Regions from separate parts of the Homo sapiens genome. Here region 1 is linked to region 2. Evidence: promoter capture Hi-C in 16 types of primary human blood cells and fetal thymus (Javierre and others, 2016). All regions are on one chromosome and are shown on one strand. The core of a region is centred on a gene start or on the middle of the fragment in contact, and the rest is flanking DNA. Distances in the headings are between cores, read along the strand shown.

Evidence for each region. Contacts are between HindIII fragments. The CHiCAGO score rates a contact against its expected background, and 5 or more counts as called.
Region 1: a contact is called between a fragment that was not itself captured here and the fragment with the promoter of ABHD2 in region 2, in 1 of 17 cell types (M0 macrophages). The highest score is 5.9, in M0 macrophages.

Annotation. Positions count from the first base shown.
Region 1 is chr15:85,701,053-85,708,591 of GRCh38, reverse strand. AKAP13 (A-kinase anchoring protein 13) reads right to left here. Exons shown (of 37, transcript NM_007200.5): 18 at 506-573. Among named protein-coding and RNA genes, the nearest start is that of LINC02883, 54 kb to the left of the region's middle. RefSeq lists an enhancer at 935-1,244 and a silencer at 3,611-3,740. The HindIII fragment of the contact is 4,594 bases long and covers 1,107-5,700 here.
Region 2 is chr15:89,083,352-89,090,856 of GRCh38, reverse strand. ABHD2 (abhydrolase domain containing 2, acylglycerol lipase) reads right to left here and starts at 2,401. Exons shown (of 11, transcript NM_152924.5): 1 at 2,294-2,401. It overlaps LOC124903573, which reads left to right. Exons shown (of 7, transcript XM_047433432.1): 5 at 1,925-2,022; 6 at 2,171-2,789; 7 at 2,916-3,296. The coding sequence ends at 3,130. It overlaps CARMAL (coronary artery disease region linked MFGE8 regulatory lncRNA), which reads right to left. Exons shown (of 4, transcript NR_183882.1): 4 at 6,628-7,505. RefSeq lists enhancers at 1,742-2,261, 2,203-2,382, 2,993-3,638. The HindIII fragment of the contact is 11,698 bases long and covers 753-7,505 here.

The DNA.
Region 1 (7,539 bases), core at 2,154-4,653, 3.4 Mb after region 2:
ACTTTCTATTCTTACGTCATGTGATCAGAGCCACCTATATTACATACCTGAGGAGAAAAGTGCTACCAGACAGGCTGGGGCTAACCATAACACCCTCCCCACCCCCACCAGCAGGTCAATGCCCCTGACCTCCACCTGCTGCCCTGATAGTCCTGAAGGAGGAAGACAGGTGTATGAACAGCAGGGTAGGCCTGCAGACGTAGTTAAGAAGAAAACCACTTTAAGAGCAATACGGAAATATTAAAATCACGAAGAAATGTATATTGAACGTGAAGAAGTTCTGAAAGCGTTTTCTTTTCTGAAAGTCTAATTCTCCAGTGTTACTCAAGAAGAAGATTGATCGCTTAAGAGAAAAAATATTTTTTAGTTATAATTTGTTCTCAAAGTTGGTACCAAATGATTAAAATAAACAAAATCCACCACAACCTCAACTCTCCCAACTCCCGAGGATTTTGCTGGTTTAAACCCTTTTATTTTAAGCCTTGTTTTAGCCAGAAAGTCTTACCTTCATTTTGACCTTTGCACAGGAGGCTAGACTTTCTCGGCAGCCTTTGTGGACAAAAGCACTGCAATCTGAAAAGAAAGCAAACCCAAGGTCACATGGACAAAGCAAACAGATCCCAGATTCTGAGTTTCCACTGCTGCCACAAGTGGCCTCTGAATTTCAAAGTGAAGTCACTCACATGTGAGAATGTGACTGAAATTACACACTGCAGTCCTCTTCTAGGAAGCAGGTCTGTGATGTTATTTGGAGGAGGAAAAACACGAGCAGATGTGATTTTTTTTTTTTCGGTGTTTGTGTCTTTATTTGGAGACCAGGAGACAGATTACAGCTTAATGAGAGGAACAACGACTCAAGTGATCTGATGGGAAGGGTGAGTTTCCTGGCCCTTAGGAAGCAACAGATGTGATTTCTAATCAACAAAAACTAGTAAGTCTGGAACTTTTCAGACAGGAAGCTGAGAGGCTACCAAAACTAAAAGTGAAAGTGTCTGCCATCAATGTGTAAGTCTAAATTACAAATAAATACATTAATAAAGCCCCTAACAGGGGTTACAAAATTTGTATGACTGTAATAAAGCACAGAATATAAAATCTGAAAAGCTTAACTACGCTGGGCTTTTTGCACCCCATTCTCTGAGACAGGAACCACACATGAAAGGTCACTGGAACCCCCACATGCACCTCTGGGAACTGTGACTTAAGAGAAAATGGAGACTTCTTGAAAGATAAAGCAGAAACCACAATTTGGCAAGGACAGCATTTTATCTCAATTCCTTTACTTTTCACTCCCTTGGCCTACAAGGGCCACTGACGTAAAAACCCAAGCCTCTGTGTCTCAGAAGGCTTACCATCAGCTCTCAGCGCTGCTATAAAGTCACATAACAGAACTGTTCCAGGAAGCCAGAGGTAAAGCAGAAACAAATGAAAGATCGGCCTGTGGGGACACTCGAGGAGACACTCTCATGGGAAGGGCTCACTCAGGAAATCAACCACAGATACCATTCACTAGGCAATGCCTCACAGACTGATTCAGGAAGCATCACAGGTCCTGTCTACATCAACTCACCAGTTAAGGGCCAACATCTCTTTTGGGCCAACATCTCTTTTAGCCCAGACACATGGATTTGTGGGGGACTGGAGTGATGATGGGGAGGGAAGGAAACCAGAAAGGAGACTGCTAGAATCCCAGACCTCAAAGGCCTATTCCATGCCTTTTGTAACACTTCCTTTAACACCCACTTGGTTCACAGGTCTCCTCCTTAATACCACTGGCACAGTGTATTGAGACTCTCTTAGGTTTTTCTCTATCCCCTCTCTGGGGCAGGGACCATTCACCCACTGCTGAATCTTCAAATTAAGACTCTCCAGCATAGTGCCTAGCTCATGCATCCTATTCAAATGCTCCTCTCTCGGCCCTACTATGCCTATTTAAACTAAAATTAGATGAATGCGCTGACACAGCCTTGATTACAGTATGTCAAACATCAATTTAGTAACACAAAAGGACAAACAGCTGTCAAACTAAATTTGACGTAGGTCCTGGCTCTGCATGTATGTATGTACTAGTATGACCCTAGTCCCTTCTTGACAGGCCTCCGTTTCCTCATCTATAAAATTAAAAAGGAGGAATCACATTTTCCCCCAGGTTCCCTCTGCTGTGATTCTATCAGATGGGTAAGTGAGTTTCAGGCTGCTGGACCCACAGCAAGAAGCATAACAAAGTGGTCGAGGCAAACGGCTTTATTTATTTTCTAGTAAGCCAAAACATGTTTCTGCCCATCCTCACGAGCACTATTCTTACTCAGGGTGTATGGTGCACCTCCCCTCCTCTGCCACAGAGATGCCCAGGACTTGCAGCTGGCATGCTCCTTTCTGGTTTCTTCCTCTCCCATTAGTTGATCCATCATATCCTTCCCATGCACAGACTTGAAAGCCCACCCCACTCAAACCCTTTCTCTTCACAAATCCCCACTCAGCTAAAGTCTTTCAAATACATCATCTTTAAGTCCATTTCTCTTTCCCTTCTACAGAAAAAGTATAAAAAGACTATGAAAAGGCAAAGTCAATGATTAGTAGATCTATGTTTTTCAGCGTGCTGAATCCTCAATATATAATGCTGAAGAGAATAAAGCAAATTACAAAAAGAGGTACTGTATGGTAGTATTTATGTAGGTTAAAAACAAAAACAAATTATATGTTGTTTATGTATGAAAATAAATTATAAAACACAGACTACGAATGCACTGAATTCATGACAGTCCTTGTCCTTGGGGAGGAAGGAAGATGCATGGGGCAGGGAAACAAAGGGGAATCTGAACTTAACCATAATGGTTTCTTAAAAAGTGAAACAATCTGAAGCCGTCTGACAGAATGTTACTATGTGTTCATTCTGAATCATGGACACATATGTGATAAATTACCTATGTATAATACTTTGTATTAACATTTTTCAAAATTAAAAAAAATTTTTAATTTTTAAAAAATCATCACACTCTAATGTCGTTCAAAGTTCCTTGGATTTGCTTATAAACATTTCCATATCCTTTTGCATAATCCATTTATCGCATCTTGTGATAACTTAAAGATAAGATTTTATTGTCTTATAATCCAGTTAAAAAAGTATATTTTTTTTCTTTTGTTTTATTGAAAATCTATAATATTTTAGGCACCTAAGGGCAACACAGGAGGTGGCAGATTTGCTGGAGAACCAGCTACTAATTCTGATCTGCAAAAGTGACCAAGAACACTATGGGCAGAATTTGTTTCCAAGTTCTGTTCTTTCTGTTCCTTTCTTCCCAACCAGTTCCAACACCCTACAGAGATTTAAGCAATGATGATTTTTAAGGGAGTGGCACTATCACGTAAAAAGGTTTCAGCAATATTCAAACTCTCAGGCCAGTGTTTGAGTGTCTGAGATGAACATAGAAGCAGAAAAAAATCATTTAAAATGTGCTTCTAGTAAAGAACTTTTCACATAAATTCACTTTTAATTAATTGAAACATGTCCCCAAACCCACAACCCAGCTGGAAGTTTAACACGCTCTATATTATGGTCATGAGTTTTCTCTTAGTGATAGTTTGCATGGACATCTCCTTAACATGCTGAAGTACCTACTTGAAAAACACTCAACTTGTTTCCAAGTTGTCCTGGACTCAATTCACAGTGACAGTTTTAGAGCTGTGCGTGGGTGATTTAGAAACTTCAGCCCCACTGACATCAGCCAAAGTCATGAGACTAAAATCTTACTCTCTGTTTGGGAAAACAGAAAATTACCAAGAACACAAGAATTGAAGACAAATCTAATACATTTTTAAGCTCTCTGCCACAAACCATACCATGTTGTTATGAAGATCAGAAAATAATTATCTGGCCTTTTATTTATTTATTTGATAGATTTCCTAATAGCAGTAGGCAATATGCTTTCATTTTTTAAAATTCTTCAAAAAGGTCTCAGCACAGTGGTTTATGGGAACAGAGCTGATCCCTAATCGGATTCCTCTGTACCTAAAACAAACAGTCCAGCCTTCAACTTCTTTCTTTGCTACAAGGAGGCATCAAACCAAAGAAAATGAAGTTAAACCCACATGACTGGAAACTATCATCTATCTATTGCTGTATCTTTTTTTTAACCCATGCCACCAACCACCACAGATCTTTGGCGAATGGTTATATACTATGTGTTTTTTATCTTTCGGAAGAAAAATAAAACAAACCATTAGCGAGGCTAACTTAAGAAAATCAACTTTATACAATGATAAGAGGAGTGGCCATGCCAAACTGAAATGAAATGACAGAATATCAAAGGACTGCCTACACAGAAACGAGCCACCTTTGGGAGCTGAGTCATATGCAGCCAAGGCTCTGACAAAAAAGGTCTTCCAGTACTTCAGTTCATTGATCATCACTTGGGAATAGGCTGAAGACTTCTGACTGTTCTGCCTACAGATGTGAGCAGCAAAATCTAACTGGGAAAAATGACCTGATTCTTCTCCAGGACACAAGTTGAGGAATTACCTTTAAGGATAGAAATGCACAACTTTCTCCTATCATTTCAACTCTAACCAAGAAAATGAAAATAAAACAAAAAACAGTTAAATATGAGCAAATTTAGAAATGCATGCTACAAAATTCTTTCTGCAACTTTAAACTTCTTGTTTAAAATCTTTAACAGAGACCCTGTCTCTCAAAAAAAAATTATTAAATATATGTGTGTGTATATATATATATATATATTTTTTTTTTTTGAGATGGAGTCTTGCTCTGTCACCCAAGCTGGAGTGCAGTGGTACGATCTTGGCTCACTGCAACCTCTGCCTCCTGGGTTCAGGTGATTCTGCTGTCTCAGCCTCCTGAGTAGCTGGGATTACCGGTCCATGCCACTACGCCTGACTAATTTTTTGTATTTTTAGTGGAGATGGTATTTCGCCATGTTGGCCAGGCTGGTCTCAAACTCCTAACCTCAGGTGATCCACCCGCCTCAGCCTTCCAAAGTGCTGGGATCACAGGCGTGAGCCACGGCACCTGGCCAATAAATAAAATCTTTGGGGGATTTGAGACATCGCCCTATCTGGACTAAGAGTGCTTATATGCAAAAGGCATGTGAGATGTTCTTGGTAGCTGGTGTAATAACCACAGTGCTGATGTACAGAACAAGAAGAAAGCCACAAAAAAGAGCCAAATCATCTCAGCTGAAGTAGCCCCAGCAGCAGTTTTCGTAACAACACTGGTAAACAAAAATGAAATAAAATGAAAGTATTCTGCTTAAAAAAGAATTGCCTTTATTGCTTAGGGTCTTTTTTTACCTTCCTTTTCCCTAAGTAATAAACTTCCTTCCTTTAATCAACTATATGTATTTTATTCTCTCATATAAGCAATGAACTATAAATGCCAGAAAACTGTCTAGAGGGCAACTTTTCTGATGAAATCAGAAGTAAAATCTAACCATCACACACATTCTAAATTCTTATGTTTCCTACTTAGATTGCAGCTGGTTTACTTGTTTATTTTTTATGTAAAAGAAACAACCTACCACAAAAGTACTGAAATGCTGCTAGCACAACAGAAAATAAATCAGCAATAATCTCAGTATCATTTTACATCTGTTTAAAGCAAGCAAAACAGAACCACTGGCAAGACCCCAAAACCTGAACATAACAAATTCCTTATTCTGAAAGACCCCACTAAGTCACTAAGCTTTTCAAAGAACAAATTATTTGTGGCAGCTGGAAAGAACAGCTGACTATTCAAGGACAGCTTTACATAATAGAGAAATAAGAGTTGAAAAGACATTCCTCTATTAACCCTGTTAAAGTCACCTAATCCTAAAGCAAGAGTAGCGTTTTGGCTGAGATAAAAAGTCCCAGTTTCTTGTATAAACCATCATAACATATCATCATGATGGACTATATGGCTGATCTTTCTAACCACAAGTCAAAGGTGACTATGCAGTGCTGAGGGTATGAAGCTCTATCCAGGGGTCAGCCAAACAGGGTTACACTTAACCACAATGGGAAGCCACTGTCTCCTAAGAGCACAAAGGTTTCCTAGGAGGTAAACGACTAACTGCATGGATGCTACATTTCCTACGACTCCTGGGAAGATCCTGGACATGAGACGCGATGGAGGGAAGTGACGAAAGATTCTGCGTCCCCAAATTACTCATATTTTCTACTTCCTGCCAAGATAACACATGGGACTTCCTACATACAAACATTCAGCTTCTTCAGGAAGCTGAAGATAATCAGCCCATTACTTTGGTTCCTTTGAGAAGATGACTACATACTATTTTGTTGCTTTCAATCCTTTTCACTCCTTTTGTGTGTGTGTGTGTGTGTGTGTGTGTGTGTGAGTCTTGCTCTGTCACCCAGGCTGAAGTGCAATGGCGCGATCTTTGGCTGACTGTAACCTCCGCCTCCCGGGTTCGAGCAGTTCTCCTGCCTCAGCCTCCCAAGTAGCTGGGGATTACAAGCGCCCACCATCATGCCCAGCTAATTTTTTGTATTTTTAGTAGAGACGGGGTTTCACCATGTTGGTCAGGCTGGTCTTGAACGCCTGATCTCGTGATCCACCTGCCTTGCCCTCCTAAAGTGCTGGGATTACAGGCGTGAGCCACCGTGCCTGGCCTACCCCCTTCTTTTTATAAGAGGCAGGCTGCAGACTGTCTTACATAAACCTTAATGCTATCACCAGATGTTGAGACTATTTCTACATTACTTCTGGAGTAGGGTGGTATGCAAATTAAAGAATGTATTTTTGAAACTTAGTGCATATTAGGGTAACAGTCAAGCCCAACTTAAACTATTCCTTTTTGCTGTCTGATACTTTTCAGTTTAAACCTCAAATATAGCCAGGCATGGTGGCTCACGCCTGTAATCCCAACACTTTGGGAGCCTGAGGAGGGTGGATCACCTGAGTCAGGAGTTCAAGACCAGCCTGGCCAATATGGTGAAACCCCAACTCTAATAAAAATACAAAAAAAAATTAGCCAGGTGTGGTGGCGTGTTCCTGTAGTCCCAGCTACTTGGGAGACTGAGGCAGAAGAATCGCTTGAACCTGGGAGGAGGAGGTTGCAGTGAGCCGAGATTGCGCCACTGTACTCCAGCCTAGGTGACAGAGTGAGACGCCGTCTCAAACAAACAAAAAACAAAAAAAACCCCTCAAATATGTTAACTCTTTTTCCTGGTTTTTGCTGAGCAGGTAGAACTAAGATAATCTCTGATATTTGATTAGATCAAGCCATTACCAAAAATCAAAGAACAACTAGCAAAGGTTATTATGACCCCTGTCCCCACCGACAGACTTCCCAAACAGAAAAGACTTTAGTCTAGTGATAACACACTGGACTTCATGAAATAACGTGCCTCCAGAAAAAGCAAATTCCTTGGGTGACTTCATATTAAAAAAAGTCCCATTCCACTTATAAACACTATTAGCACAGAACCAGTAGCCAATCCACTATTTCACTGGTTTTCCAAAATACTAGAAAAACTCTAAAAAGTCTTATATGAAATATTAATATACTGTGTTCAGATATG
Region 2 (7,505 bases), core at 1,152-3,651:
AATACAGTGGCTCATAAAATCTTAATCTAAAAATGTTCATCCATTTAGAATCAAGCTGCATCACACTCATCGCTTGGGAGGAGGGCTGAAGAGAGGGAATACATATTTGGAAGGACACCATGGACACGGGTATCATCCAGGACTTTACCATTTCGAGGGATTCCCACCCCTCACTGCCTGCTTTTAACGATAATTTTAAAGGGTTCAGAGCCTAAGAAGAATGTAACTGCAAGGGGGAACTAACATAGAAACTAAATTACCTGAATCACAAAAATAAGTAAGGTATAAAATGCAACGTGACTTGGAAACCCCTTGCAGCTGTCTGTGTTAAAATGAAATCTGGAATATGTTAAATGAATTTGGGGGTGGGGGGAAGGGGACTGGGGGAAAAATTAGCTCTTGATAGAGTATTGGGTGGTGGATATGAAGAAAAATGTACAAAAAGGCAACAGAATATCATATCTAGCAAATCTATTGTGCTTACCCTGTGCCAGGTACTGTTCTAAATGCTTCAGATGTAGTAACTCCATGCACTTCTCAAAACAATCTTCTAACATAAGTATCATTATTATTTCTGTTTTAGAGGTGAGGAAACAGAGGCACAGAGAAGTTAAGTAGCTTGCCCAAGGTTGTACAGCCAGTAAGAGGCAGGGCTGGGATTCAAATCCAGGCACTCAGGCACCAAAATCTGTCCTCCTAACCTCTCTGGACTCCCCTAGAACTTAAAACACTGAGAATGGGCAAACTAAGCTTGGAGTGAAATAAGTCATGCACTGGCTAGATCTAAATACAGTCAAGAGATCAACCCTTAGTCATGGGCCTGTGATGACCAACCAGCCCTGTGACCACCCCAGGCCTCAGTTTCCTCACCTGTGCATTGAGGAGACTGAATGAGAGTCCACCTAATTAGACTTAGATAGAGATGAGCTCTATCTAAGGTGCCTTCAGCTCTAAAATGTCACAGTCCGTGCTGACTACCAGCTGTATATGGACTGCTTTCTGACTAGATGTTCAAAGATTAATTCATCCTAAAACACACAGCAAGGTGTGTTAAGATTCTTTCTCTGCCTCCTGACCTTTAGATTATTATGTTCTCTCTATTCCGGCAAATGACAGAGGGTAGTGAAGGATTTCTCTTTTGGACTCTGCTTAATGTGGCTGTAAGGAAACGGCCTTCGAAAAGCTCTGGGCACAGATCTTGTTGACTCTGCCAAACCTGCAGTCTCTCCAGGTCCCTCTGTGGAGCCTGTTCTTGGAACATGCCTTTGGATTTGGTTACTGGAATGCAGGTGAAACTGACAAACTGGAGGTCCAGCAACCAAAAAAGAGAGATTGGGAAGATTAAGAGAGCGGTCCATGGTAGTTCAAATACAAGGAGTTTCACAGTGGCTAAATAAACCTCTATCTTTTTGTATAATCCAGTCTCTTTGCTAACACCCACTCTTGAGAGCTGAAACCTCAAAATTCATTATGGGTGAATTCAACAGCCACTTGGAACCTAATGGACCCCCAGAAGTACTCTTCTCAAGCTAGGCATCAAAGGCCACTTAGAGTGCATTTGTGGGTAGAGAAGGCCCTTACAGATGGGTCATGCAGTCCTCCCTTGGGAGTCCTAAGCATCCGACACAGGTGGCTGTCATCAGGCCACTGCTTGGACATCGCCAAGGTCGAGGCGCTAGCTGCCCGGCCTGGCAGGCAGCCTCCTGCGCTGCTGGACAGCTCTAGCTGTGGGAAAAGCTCACGAAGGGCCTAGAACAGTGCCGGTCGCGGGGCCGAACTCGGTAAATGTGCTTCCAAGTGGGTCAAAAGCTGCCTTTCTAGAACTTAAACCCACTGGTCCTGCGTGAGCCCCTGGAGCCCCGAAACACAGAGGCCTCTCGGGTATCTCGGGCTGTAATCAGGCCCCTCGGCCCTCTCCTTCCAGGTGCGGATCCCGGACCTTCTTCGCCGAGCCTGAACCGGCAGACCCCTCCCCAGGCCCCTGAAGACCCAGGAGTGAGCACCAATGGGGGAAAGGCCGCGGTCGGGGTTGTCCCCAACCTCGGTTCCTCGGGCAGAAGGGGACAAAGGGCCTCAGGAAGGCGTATCCCCCGCCGCGATCTGGGCTGTCCCCACCACTGGGCAAGCCAGCCCCTGGGACCCCCACGGCGCCAGATGACAGGCCCCCCAGGATCCCCTCAGGCTGCGGCGTGATGGGCCGAGCTACGCCGGGGACCTCGGGGCTCGGAGATTCGGTTCGACGGGTCCGGGGTGCGATCCCCGCTCCGCGGAGCTCGCTCGGCCGTGGCTTTACCTGCGTGTGATTGACTACAGGTGCTCAGCTCGCCCCCAGTCTGGTTCCTGCAGCTCCCCGGCTGCCAGCGGCGCTCATGGATATACAGCCGGAACCCCTGGCCAGTGCAGCTCCCGCCGCTACCGGCCCCGCCCAAGTAACTGCCGCCACGCCCCTGACGACCGCTTCTGCCACGCCCCTAACCACGGAAACCGCTTGTTCATTGGGCAGTTCAGCCGCTTCTCCACTTGCCCCGCGCGCTCATTGCGTCTAGGAGGGGATCCATTGATCAGCGAAGCTGTTCCTCAGAGTGGAGGCGGGATTCTTAGGGGAGAGCTCCTCAGCAATTGGTTACATTTGACGGCTTTAGTCCAGGGACCCAGACGCTACTGGATAAGGCCAGCCCGGAGTGGGCGGGGAAAGGGGAGGAGGGCTAGAAGGTGGGTCGTGTTTGATGTCGATGGGGGCGGGGTGAAGAGACGGGTAATTGTGACCGCAAACTGCTTTAGAGGGCTGGGTAAGGTCAGCTGTCGACTGGGCTCAGAGGAATGAGGTCGGCTGGTAGCTCAGCTGCTGGTAGCTCAGCTGGGGCTCTTATGGGTCCAGGCCGACTGACTGACTCACGTGTACTCAAATTTCGCAGGGGTGAAATTTGAGGTCATATCCCGGGAGAGAGGAAGAAGGGTCGTGAGTCACCGAACCCGAAGGAGAGGAAAAGATGTGGAGGCAGCGGTCTATGGCCTCTTCCAGCTCCGGACGGGGGATGGGGACGCTCTGGGCAATACGGGCCTCAGTTATTGTCCCACTGTCCTTTCAACCCTTAACCAACCCAGTTGGAGGCCGCCTGGAAGAATGTAGCCTTGGAACTAGGGCCTGGAATTGGGGCTCCTACCGGTTGTGTGGGCTTGGGCAAGTCACTTAACCTTCCCGCATGCTCCCTTCACTTGGCAACTGAGGGTAACAATAGTAGTTGATGAGAAGATTAAATAAACTCTGATAAATGCCAACAGTGGCTGGCACTCAACAGGCATTCAATCAAGGCTGATTCTTCCCCCATCACCCACTCACCTCATCCGGCTGGGAAACTAGGCCCATTTCTAAAATTCTATGAGCCTGAAACTGCTTTTGCAATGGCATGTCGTGTACCAAGAATAGAACACTTGAGCGACTTGAAATGCAACCCCTGTAGGGCAGACAAGGCCACCCTACCAAGGCCCCATAGGGCTCGGAGAGAGGGAGCAGGGGATGAAATGAGAGGAGCGATTTAGTCAGAGAAGGGAAGTGGCATTTGTTACCATGTAAATTTTTCCCAACATATTTCAGGTTGTGACAAGGAACAGTGGGCTGGCTCAAGTTTTATGGAGCGTAACCAAATAACATCCTTTGAAGGCTGATCAGCACCGGACCAGAAATCATTGCATGAGCTCTATCTGTCAGAGACCCCTGAAACCCATTCCCCATTCTGAAGGTGTAGACATCACAGAGTGTGGACAGAAATAGCTTCTCAGGCCTGAATGTAGCCCCAGACCCTTTGTGTCTGTCTTTGAAAGAACTCACAGCCATGGTACATCAGAGTGAAGGAGAAGAAAGAATCCTTTGCCATTGCTCTATTTTTCATTCAGTTGTCATGTTACCTTGAAAAAAAAAGGTTTCATCTCAGTGTTTATATATTCCTCTGTATTCTCTTTCATCTTGGAAAAGAAAAACCCAGGCTTCAGTAGCAAAGTCTCTTAGTGATGAACCCCATCGTCCTGACTCTGAGTTAAAACAGTTTGGACTTCCAAAAAAGAGCTTTAGATTATCACTAGATAAGTATATAAGGTAATGCATATGTTAACTAGCTTGGTGTAGCTATCCCACAATGTATACATGTATCAAAACATGGACCGGTACAGTGGCTCACGCCTGTAATCCAACATTTTGGGAAGCTGAGGCGGAGCCCAGGAGTCTGAGACCAACCTGGGCAACATAGTGAGACCCCGTCTCTACAAAAAATTTAAAATTTAGCCTGATGTGGTGGTGCATGCCTGTAGTCCCAGCTAGTGGGGAGGCTGAGGCAGGAGGGTTGTTTGAGCCCAGGAAGTTGAGGCTGCAGTGAGCTGTGATCGCACCACTGCACTCCAGCCTGGGCCACAGAGTGAGACCTTGTTTGACAAATAAACATAATAACATGATAAACATAAATAAGTAAAGCATGTTGTACATCATAAATATATACAAATTTTGTCAATTAAAAATTAATAATAATTTAAAAAATAGGCTGGGCACAGTGGCTCAAGCCTGTAATCCCAGCACTTTGGGAGGCCAAGGCAGGAGGATCACCTGAGGTCAGCAGTTCCAGACCAGCCTGGCCATCATGGTGAAACCCCATCTCTACTAAAAATACAAAATTAGCTGGGCATGGTGGCACACACCTGTAATCCCAGCTACTCAGGAGGCTGAGGCAGGATAATCGTTTGAACCCAGGAAGCAGAGGCTGCAGTGAGATTGCACCACTGCATTCCAGCTTGGATGACAGAGTGAGACTCTGTCTCAGAAAAAAAAAAACAAAAAAGATTTGTCACTAGTTTTGGAGGGGTGTGTACACATATCTATGTACACATTTGGTTCTGATCCACAGTTTTCTGGTTCTTGTCTTTAAACAGTGCTGCTTGGTAGCCATACACATGGCTGCATGCATGTTACGGAAATAGGCCCAGCCCAATACAGGTTTGCTTCTGCCTGTGTTTGCTAAGGGAAAGTGAGATGTCTTGTTAGGCCCTGAAAAGCATGAAGTGGCTCCTGAGATCCAGGATGATTTCTCCAACTTGATTCAGAGCCACAAAAAGCAGCTGTTAGGAGTAGATTGCAGATGGGCTCGCCATTGTGTAAATGGCTTTTTTCTCCCATCTCAGGAACATAGGTTCAGCCACCAGTTCCAGAAAAGGACATCTTTCCAGTTCAGGAATTCTAAAACACAATTATGTCACAGAGGCTCAAAAAGAGGCACAGACTGAGCTCAGGAAGAGGAGGAAGAGTAAAAGGATCCGGGCATCTTCTCTGCAGCTCTGGCAGGCTTAAAGAATGATCCATTATCATTTCCCAGCACACAGAACTGTTTCCTTAATTGTCTCTGGTTTCTGTTTCCTCCCTTCTGCTTGCAGTCTTGCCATATTCTGTTTAATCATATTATTTCATTCTATAAATCATTTCTGAGGGAGGCCATTTAGGAGACAAAATGGACTTATTTTTGCCTTCAAGTTTAGTGGCCCGTTGGGATTGAGGATTTGGTGAGCCTTGGCCTGAGATAAGCAGGTGTTGGGATGTGGCTGTAAAGTGAATTTTCAAAACCGTGACAGTACCTTGTAATAAAAAAGAACAAGGGAGAGGGTATGCCCCAGTCACCTTCTGGGATGGCCAAAGCTGCAGGACTTCATTAAAGCAGAACTGCTTCTAACTCAACTGGGGCCTCTGCAGGATTTACTAACCTGAGAAAGTCAAGGTACTCTGGGAGACAGCAGGGAGCAGTGGTTGGAGCAGATAATATGTTCTATTTATTCTTTTAAGGAAAATCAGCAATTCACTCAGTTTGTCATTTTTGTTATTCTGTGTCCTCGGGGGATGGTTCAGAGAAAGGGGATTTGGAAGCTCTACTGCTGGGGATTGGATCCTGATTCCATCCTTCCTAGCCTTGTGACCTTGGGCGAGTACAGCACATCTCTGTGCCCTACTTTCTTCTGTAAAACGCAGAGGACAGTGAAGTGCTTGTCTCATGGGGTCCTTTGAGTGGCAGATGAGTTCACAGATGCAAAGTGCATCAAACAGTACCTGGCAAATACCTAAAAATGTTTAATAAATGTTTGCCACAGCTATTATAGGAGCCCATTTCAGAACCTTCCTCTAAGGTCCTCACTCATTTTCTAAGTTCTAGCCCTCAGAAGTAGTGATCACAGGATTCAGGATTTTTAGAAAATATAGATAGACTTTATTTTTTAAAGCAGTTTTAGGGCCAGGCGCCGTGGCTCATGCCTGTAATCCCAACACTTTGGGAGGCTGAGGTGGGCGGATCACTTGAAGCCAGGAGTTTGAGACCAGTCTGGTCAATTGGCGAAACACCGTCTCTACTAAAAATACAAAAATTAGCTGGGTGTGGTGACGTGTGCCTGTAATCCCAGCTACTTGGGAGGCTGAGGCAGGAGAATCGCTTGAACCTAGGAGGCGGCGGATGCAGTGAACCAAGATCGTACCACTGCACTCCAGCCTGGGCAACAGAGGGAGACTCTGTCTCTAAATAAATAAATAGTTTTAGGTTTATAACAAAATTAAGTGGAAAGTACAGACAGTTCCTATATACACACTCTCCAACACATGCAGGATTTTTTTTTTTTTTTTTTTTACACTAGCAAAATCTCACCACCTGGTGCGAGAAACTTTTCCTTTCGAATATGGTTACCAAAAACGGTTTGAGGACCGAGTTAAGGTTTTTGAGACTAGACCTCATCAGTGTAATCACTGTGAGGGAAATGGAAAGGATGAGGCTAAGAGAATAATAGTAAAAGCTGCAGCCTGGAGGTTCATAAAGTATTCCTGCAGTCATGACATGGTGCAGTCTGAGGGATCCAATATTGTGGCTTTATTGTCACAGCCGGTGCAGTCTGCATGCAGTCTAGGAAGGAGGTTCAGAATGTCCTGTTACCAGGTCGACTGTCTGGCTTCTTATTGGTAATGGAGATGAAGTTTGTTTAGAGGCTTTAAGTCCCAGCATGCAATAGTTCCATGAGGACAAACTATGATGAAATTCAAAAATGTGGTCCTTTTGTTATTAGAAAAGGCTTTCTGGTGGCCAGTGAAAACGATCATGAAAAATAATCTTGTCTGTGATTTGAGCTGCTTTCTTAAGCTATATGTGAGTTGTCTATAGTAAAATCATAAGATGAACACTCCTGGCTTATGTATGTTGTCCTGGCAAAATTTTAATAGTGCCCTCCCTCCCACCAGGTGACTCTCAAATAGTCCCAATTTGGTTGATAAATTTTATGGTAATATTTATACTTACATATATAGGACCCAGTACTAAAAATGCTCATGAAACACACAAACACACATACACGCACGTGCACGCGCGCACACACACAGATGAAAAAGTGTTCTAATCTTATAATCAGATACATACAGAATATCTGACAGGTGACTGGCTAATGATGACTTCTTCTTAGTCACCATGCATTCCTCTTCCTGATGTCATTCTTAATTA